Regions from separate parts of the Homo sapiens genome. Here region 2 is linked to region 1. The links are contacts of gene promoters, found by promoter capture Hi-C in human tissues and cell types (Jung and others, 2019). All regions are on one chromosome and are shown on one strand. The core of a region is centred on a gene start or on the middle of the fragment in contact, and the rest is flanking DNA. Distances in the headings are between cores, read along the strand shown.

The links. Contacts are between HindIII fragments. The study calls those that stand out against the background at their distance.
Region 2: a contact is called between a fragment that was not itself captured here and the fragment with the promoter of FHL5 in region 1, in 1 of the 25 tissues and cell types used here (mesenchymal stem cells).

Annotation. Positions count from the first base shown.
Region 1 is chr6:96,561,168-96,564,761 of GRCh38, forward strand. It overlaps FHL5 (four and a half LIM domains 5), which reads left to right and starts at 1,961. Exons shown (of 6, transcript NM_001322466.2): 1 at 1,961-2,188. The HindIII fragment of the contact is 7,723 bases long and covers 1-3,594 here.
Region 2 is chr6:97,112,694-97,116,287 of GRCh38, forward strand. KLHL32 (kelch like family member 32) reads left to right here. Exons shown (of 11, transcript NM_052904.4): 7 at 1,090-1,816. Among named protein-coding and RNA genes, the nearest start is that of MMS22L, 170 kb to the right of the region's middle. The HindIII fragment of the contact is 6,348 bases long and covers 1-3,594 here.

The DNA of each region.
Region 1 (3,594 bases), core at 711-3,210:
CATGTGAGACATGGAATGCAGGGGTGAGGACAAATTTGAGAAAGATCATTTAACAAACTAGAACCTACAGAAGGTGGACAATGATGGGGATGGTGGAGGATAAATGAGGAAAGGGAATACTCTAACATAAGGGGTGGATGATTGTGCCATTCCCTGAAGTAGGAAATACAGCAAACTAACAAGTTTGGAATGGGGAGAAGACAATAAGGATATTTGGGACTGTTGAGTTTGAGATGGCTGGGGACCCCTAGACAAGGTTTTCTAATAGATAGCGGGATACAGGTCTGGAACCTTGAAGAGTGGTATCAGATGAAAGTACACATTTGGGAGTCATGTTGTATAAAATTGTTCATTGTTTTGATGAAGAACGTGATGGAAAGTCTGCAGAGAAGCATACTGAACAGAAGATAAAGCTCTAGGGAAGAGTGAGGTGAATAGAGAGAAAGTGAGGGTGCTAAGAGCAAACAGAAAATCAGAAGGGTGTAACATAGCAAAACCAAGGGAAGATAATTTCAGAAAGAAATAGACATGGCCAGAGATGAGAATTTTTCGGTAAGACTGAAGACCATACTCTTTGGGTTGCTAATCAAGGTTGTATATGATCTTAATGAAGCTTTTTTGGAGCGGTTCAAGTGAAAGACAGATTGCAATAAGTTGGGAGGGAGAAGAAGGCTCAGAATGTAGTAGGTTTGGAATGACTTGGTGGATGTAGATTACCCTCTCAGGAAGCATGGGAGCAAATAAAGAGGGTGATGGTCCCAGGCACTTTTACATCTCAAGGACTGCTTTCCTTGCCCATAAAACAAGGAAAATACAGGCAGTACCTGTTTAGCAATGGTGTCCTAAGGATTAAAATCTATTACTAATGAAATATACTTGTGTCCTTTTGCTGAATCCAAATTTATTGTTGTTAGTCGCCATATGTTCATTTTCATAATGTCTTAATCATTAAAGTCAAGTGAATAACAAAACATACAGTTAACTGGCTCTGCATTTCTCTAGCTCAAGTTCTTTGACTGTATATACCCGAGTTTGACCTTAGAAGATATTAACATTTCATTCCTTTAGCAGTTAGAACAAGGACAGTTTAAGTTTGGTCTGGGATTAAGGCAGAATTTCTTCTCTCATCCTGCCTTCCAAACTGAAGAAATGGCCTCAAATGGAGATTCTAAGAGAAAATGTCACTTGCCTTATGAATCAGTGTGCCCCACTGAGGATACCTATTATGGATTGGTTTAATATCCAAAAATTTCTTCAGATCCAACTCTTGACATCTCTGTCCACTTTTTGTGTTTTGAAGATTTCAAAAGACTCAATGAGTTTATGCTTTATGAAGTCATAGAGCCATGGATGTGATGTCACAATTGTGGCCAGCTCACCAGGAAGCAGGCAGAGCGGGGAAGGCTGAGTCCACACTGCAAGTCCAGAGAGCAGGGAACTACCTTGAGTATTCTACTCAAACTTATGTCTCAGAGTTCCCCAATTTCCCAAGAAGGGAGAGATAGAGGCCACAATCCAGGGGGCCATCTCTTAAGGTACCAATAATTTTGCAGGTAAGAGCATGGGACCTCATCCCTTTCCAGATGGCCTCAAAAGGAGATTCTAAGAGACAATGTCCAAAAGAAAAGCTCAGCGGTTCAGACATTTCTAACCTAAAAGAAGGGTTCTGATCACCACCAGAAAACAAAGAAAACAAAGCCAAAAACAGATTGAGGAAACAGAAAATACATCATCCTTTTAGAGTATTATTTTTATAAATATGCCCTTAATTTAGCCTAGTTAGTGGAAATTTCTCAAGTGTGTATGCGTCTGTGTGAACATTGTGTATTTTAAACTTTTTGGAGCTTAGCCAGATACTTCGAATGCTAATCCTGGCAGAATTTCCCTTTAAGGATGTCCTGCAGAGAATTTGTTACTCATAGTTTTAAGTAAAAATTGACAAATAGTGCTTTTTCAGCCCAGTAGGAGTCATGTACACGGTATAAGACTTGGAGGAAATGCAGGGACCCTTCTGTTTTCTCCTGCAAAGTTGAAAAAGCTGCATGCAGTTGGAAGGGATCTTCAGATGGTGCTGGTGACTTTCTGTTCCTTTTGGAGTTGACATGCATGTGGATTGGAGGAAAAATAATCAACATATATTCTCCTTTCGTACTGTTTAAATCACAGGAAGAAGCGGCTTTAAGACAAAGTGAGTTCTTTCCCCCAAATATTTCCTTTGTTTTGTTTTGTGGTATTTTGACTTCTCTAATTTTTTTTTAAGGATGAGAAATTTTTATAAACTTTCCAGTAACTACTTAAGAGAAAACTTTTGCTTGGCAAAAGTGTATGCCTTTTGAAGTTTCTTAGCCATTTTAGCTAAAGGTTATCAAATTTTATATGCTGAGCTTTTCAGATTTCTCATTCTTATAACTTGCATGTGGAGGTAACATAGGGGCCAGATAACTCCTTGGAATTGCCTCTTGAGTTTTTCTAATGGTCTTAATGTGGGGTATAGCTTTATTGTTGTAAAAAGAGGAAGAAGAGGAGGGCTCTTGAGATTTTATTTGGCTTAATTTATTTGAATGAATAACATTATCACTGAGCATATTTTATGACTAGATTTATATTTCAAGAGCACATTTTGAAGTCACTTACAGGTTTTAAGTAAAAGGAGTTAATGAGATTCCTGCTATTTTCAAGAAAAATCTGCCTACTTTCCAGAAGTGGGCATACAAAAATTCATAATCTTTAATTTTCTAAGGTTAAATTAAAATATCTGTGTTTCCAGCCCACAGAAATATATAATAGACTATATCAATCTAAAGTGCTACTTCTTGAAACAGAGGTAGTGTTATTCAGGCAAAAAGCATACATCCCATATGTGTTAATGCTTTCTCTCTCACTATTTTAGTCATATCCTCTTTGGTACCTATCATTCATTTGAAAACCAAATGCAGCTCCTCAGCTGTCATTTCAGACTTTAGAAAATTGGAAACTAAAAAGAATTATTAACAAAATGCATAGCTCTCATACATAAAATGTAAGGAAATCCTTGAGCCATTTTAGCCCTCATTTTATATCCACAATACCATCATGTGTAAATACTAGCATTTTTATTAGCAAAGCATATGGATTAAAATTTAACATAGGTATTGCAAACATATGTATCATACAAGATATTTCTTAACATATGTGTTATGATATATGCTTTAAGCCATAATCCAAATTGCTTTAAGGGGAAGGTAAACTCTAGTGTCTGTTTTCTACACTTGTTCTATTTATTCTCACATTATTATTAGTTGCCAAATCTGGGACTGTTCTACCTAAGCAAGAGTAGTAGATTTGTGTTTTAATATAACACCACCTCACTGACAAATTTACCTCTTATTTTTATTACACTTACCAACATTTTGAGTAAAGCTGAATTAATCTGTGTTTCTTACATAAGACTGGGTACTTTTCTACTATAATATTACAAATAAGAGTTTAGAAAATTTAGAGATTTAGAGAATATTTAGAGACAGATATTTAATTTGTCTGTTTTTATTTTTTCAATCGAGGGAACATGATCTCTTTAGAAATGAAAGCTGAATACTTGGGTTCGCATGGGAAGCT
Region 2 (3,594 bases), core at 704-3,203, 550 kb after region 1:
CTAGGCCTCCCAAAGTGCTGGGATTACAGGCGTGAGCCACCATGCCTGGCCCTGATGAATTTTTTTAATTTTAAAAAAAAAAAGGAGAATTTCTTAAAACTAAAGCAGGTACATTATCATAAATAACAAAATGAAACAATATTCTTTATTATTTAATAATAAATATATAATTTTATTTATAAAATTATTATAACAAAATTAAACAATAATTTTTATTATGTATGACAATGTACCTGCTTTAGTTTTAAGAAATTCTCTTTGCTCATATCAAAATGTTATAACTCCTTTCCTTCTTAGAAGAGATCTGAAAGGAATAAAAAGGTTAGGATTACATTCTGCTATTATGTTCATAATACAAAGATGATCTCCTCTATATTCTGTTTTTGTGCAAACGACTCTAACAAATTTCCAGTATCTTACATGTGCAAATTACAACTGTCTTCAAGGTAAAAGTTAATTGAGAGAAAAAATTAATAGGTTAGAATCTTATTTTTTCTTTTCTTGCTTCCTGACTGTTATACCTACTAAAGGGATGTGGGGTGGGAGGGGGAGTCTTTTTTCTTTCTAAATCATTCTGCTAGTGTTATGTTGACTTTCTCTCAAGTACACCCTGTGGTCTCAGATGATCACATATTTTCTTACGTTACTCATATTGATACAGCACCTTGGCTTATGGGTTGACATATATTACCTGAGCTTTGATGACACCTCCCACCATTGACATTTCCTGGTGGTGGGGTGTACTGAGCCTCTTATGCATGAAACATAAGGGAACAGGCTGTTTCACAACAGCATTTTCATTCTTTGAAAATCAATTACTGTTCACCCCAAATGGTATCTGAAGCCCCCATCAGTGTTGCTTCACATTGTTTCTTACCCCTACAGCAATGTCTTGAGTGCTTTTGTGTCTTTGCTGAGACGGAAAAAAAGTTCCTCACATGGGCTTCAAAATATTCCAGTTATACTGTTTGTAAGAAAGTTTGTATTATTACCTGCCTGGAAGAATACAGGTAACCTACCTATATGCTGTTGCTTTCTCTTTCTTTCTTACCTTTGTGTCTCCTCTCATCTCACTTCCCTCTGTTTCAGCTAGCTGTGAGGTGGTTGGAACACAACTGCCACTACCAGTACATGGACGAGCTCCTGCAATACATCCGCTTTGGCCTAATGGATGTGGATACTCTCCATACAGTTGCCCTGTCCCACCCCCTTGTCCAAGCAAGTGAGACTGCAACAGCCCTTGTCAACGAGGCCCTGGAATACCACCAGAGCATCTATGCACAGCCTGTCTGGCAGACTCGCAGGACCAAACCACGATTCCAGTCAGACACTCTGTATATCATTGGTGGGAAAAAGCGCGAGGTCTGCAAGGTCAAGGAACTTCGGTACTTCAATCCTGTTGATCAGGAGAATGCTCTCATAGCTGCCATTGCCAACTGGAGTGAGCTGGCTCCCATGCCTGTGGGAAGGAGCCACCATTGTGTGGCAGTCATGGGGGACTTCCTGTTTGTGGCAGGAGGGGAAGTTGAGCATGCCAGTGGCCGGACGTGTGCTGTGAGGACTGCCTGTCGCTATGACCCCCGCAGTAATTCCTGGGCAGAGATAGCACCCATGAAAAACTGCCGGGAGCATTTTGTGCTGGGTGCCATGGAGGAATACCTCTATGCAGTTGGGGGCAGAAATGAACTGCGCCAGGTTCTGCCTACAGTTGAGCGATATTGCCCCAAGAAGAACAAATGGACTTTTGTTCAGTCCTTTGACAGATCCCTTTCATGCCATGCTGGATATGTGGCTGATGGTCTTCTTTGGATATCAGGTAGAACATACCTCATGTTGGATTTATCAAAACACACTTTCATTGTGGTATATATTTAAAAGTCAAGCTTTAATACTGTGGCCATGTGTAATTGAAAGATTGAACCAAGCATGCCATTTTAGCTAATTAACATTCATTTATTGAGCACCTACTCTAGAGAGCAATGTAATTGGAAATAATATGCCTTTCTGTGACTTTCTGAGTGACTAATGGAATAAAAATTCAAGGTGGAAATTGTTGGTCCATCACAACTGTTTTTTTCCTACCAGAACTTCTCCTGTCAGCTCTTGATTATTCATGGATTGTATTGCACAGCTTGTGGTTTATCTAGGTCCTTTGCTTTTTCTTTCACCCCTGGCTACCTGACTAGAGCCATTTCATCAAAGACAAGGCAAGAGAAGTATAAGCCCAGTTAATCCATTTTTCTGGGTATATCAATAGGTATATATCCAAGTAATCACTATGCTGTGCATTGAGAGAAGGGATTTAAGTTACCAAAACAAAGTTGTTGTTGTTGCTGTTTCAGATAGGGTCTCACTCTTGTTACCCAGGCTGGAGTGCAGTGGTGCCATCTCGACTCACTGCAACCTCCACCTCTCAGGCTCAAGTGATCCTCCCACCTCAGCTTCCCAAATAGCTGGGACTACAGGAGCACACCACCACACCCAGCTAATTTTTGTAATTTTTGTCAAGGCAGGGTTTCACTACATTGCCCAGGCTGCCCTTGAACTCCTGAGCTCAAGCAATCCACCAGTCTTGGCCTCCCAAAGTGTTGGGATTGCAGGCGTGAGCCACTGTGCCCAGCCTAAAACAAAGTTTGTTTGTTTTTAATTATCCGTGAATGGTAGTTACTTGTGCCATTCTAACCCTTCATTCCTATTTACTCTCCTATTTTTACTGATGGTACAGTTTGAGCTCTAGTTTACCTTTTCATCTCTTTTGAAAACCTTTTGATTATGGAAAAAGTAGGGAGACTAGAATAATGAACCCCATGTACCCACAACCCAAAATCCACAATTAACTACTCCTTGCCAATCTTGTTTTCTCTACACCCACAGACCCATCACACCCCTCTGGGCTGCCTTTTTGCTTATACAGAAGGAGTCTGTGAGGCATATGCTATCAACATCACATTATAAACATGTGTTTTCAATCTTAGTTTTGAGAAAGGCCCTAAGTGTTCTCCTTTGAAAGGTTTTTCTATCAGGAAGAAAGCTGCATTTTCTCCCAGTTGGAAGATACTCATATTGTAATCCAAATGGAACTTGTTGGATTTCTGTGTCATCAAGCACTAAGAGGAATAGAAAGGGTAAAAAACTTAAATATTAAGAATAACCCTGATGTTTGTACTTAGAAGAAATCATTACTTTTAAGTACACCTGCAAAGGCTTCTCAGCTTTCCTCAATAATCGTCTCTAGTGTTCTAACACCTGCTCTGACAAAATTCTCCCTTGCACTTCTTTAAATTCATTTGGACTTTGACTGTTCTTCTGCTGTCCTCAATAACCAGGAAGATAGTCACAGGCTCAGCTTCTCTGAGCGGTGCCTCAGTTATTGGCAATTCACTGAGTTTTATTGACAGAACCTAGCTCACATCAGGGTTTAAGTGCTCAATAAATTAATGAATGAAGGGAAGACTAGGACTAAGGAAGCAGACAGATGAAGTGGACCCAACATTTACTGGCTCTATACCAAAGAAACATTAGAAACAAGTATGTATGTTAGTATATGTAGATATATTTAAATTAAAACCTCATTTATCTAATTACTGTTCCTTT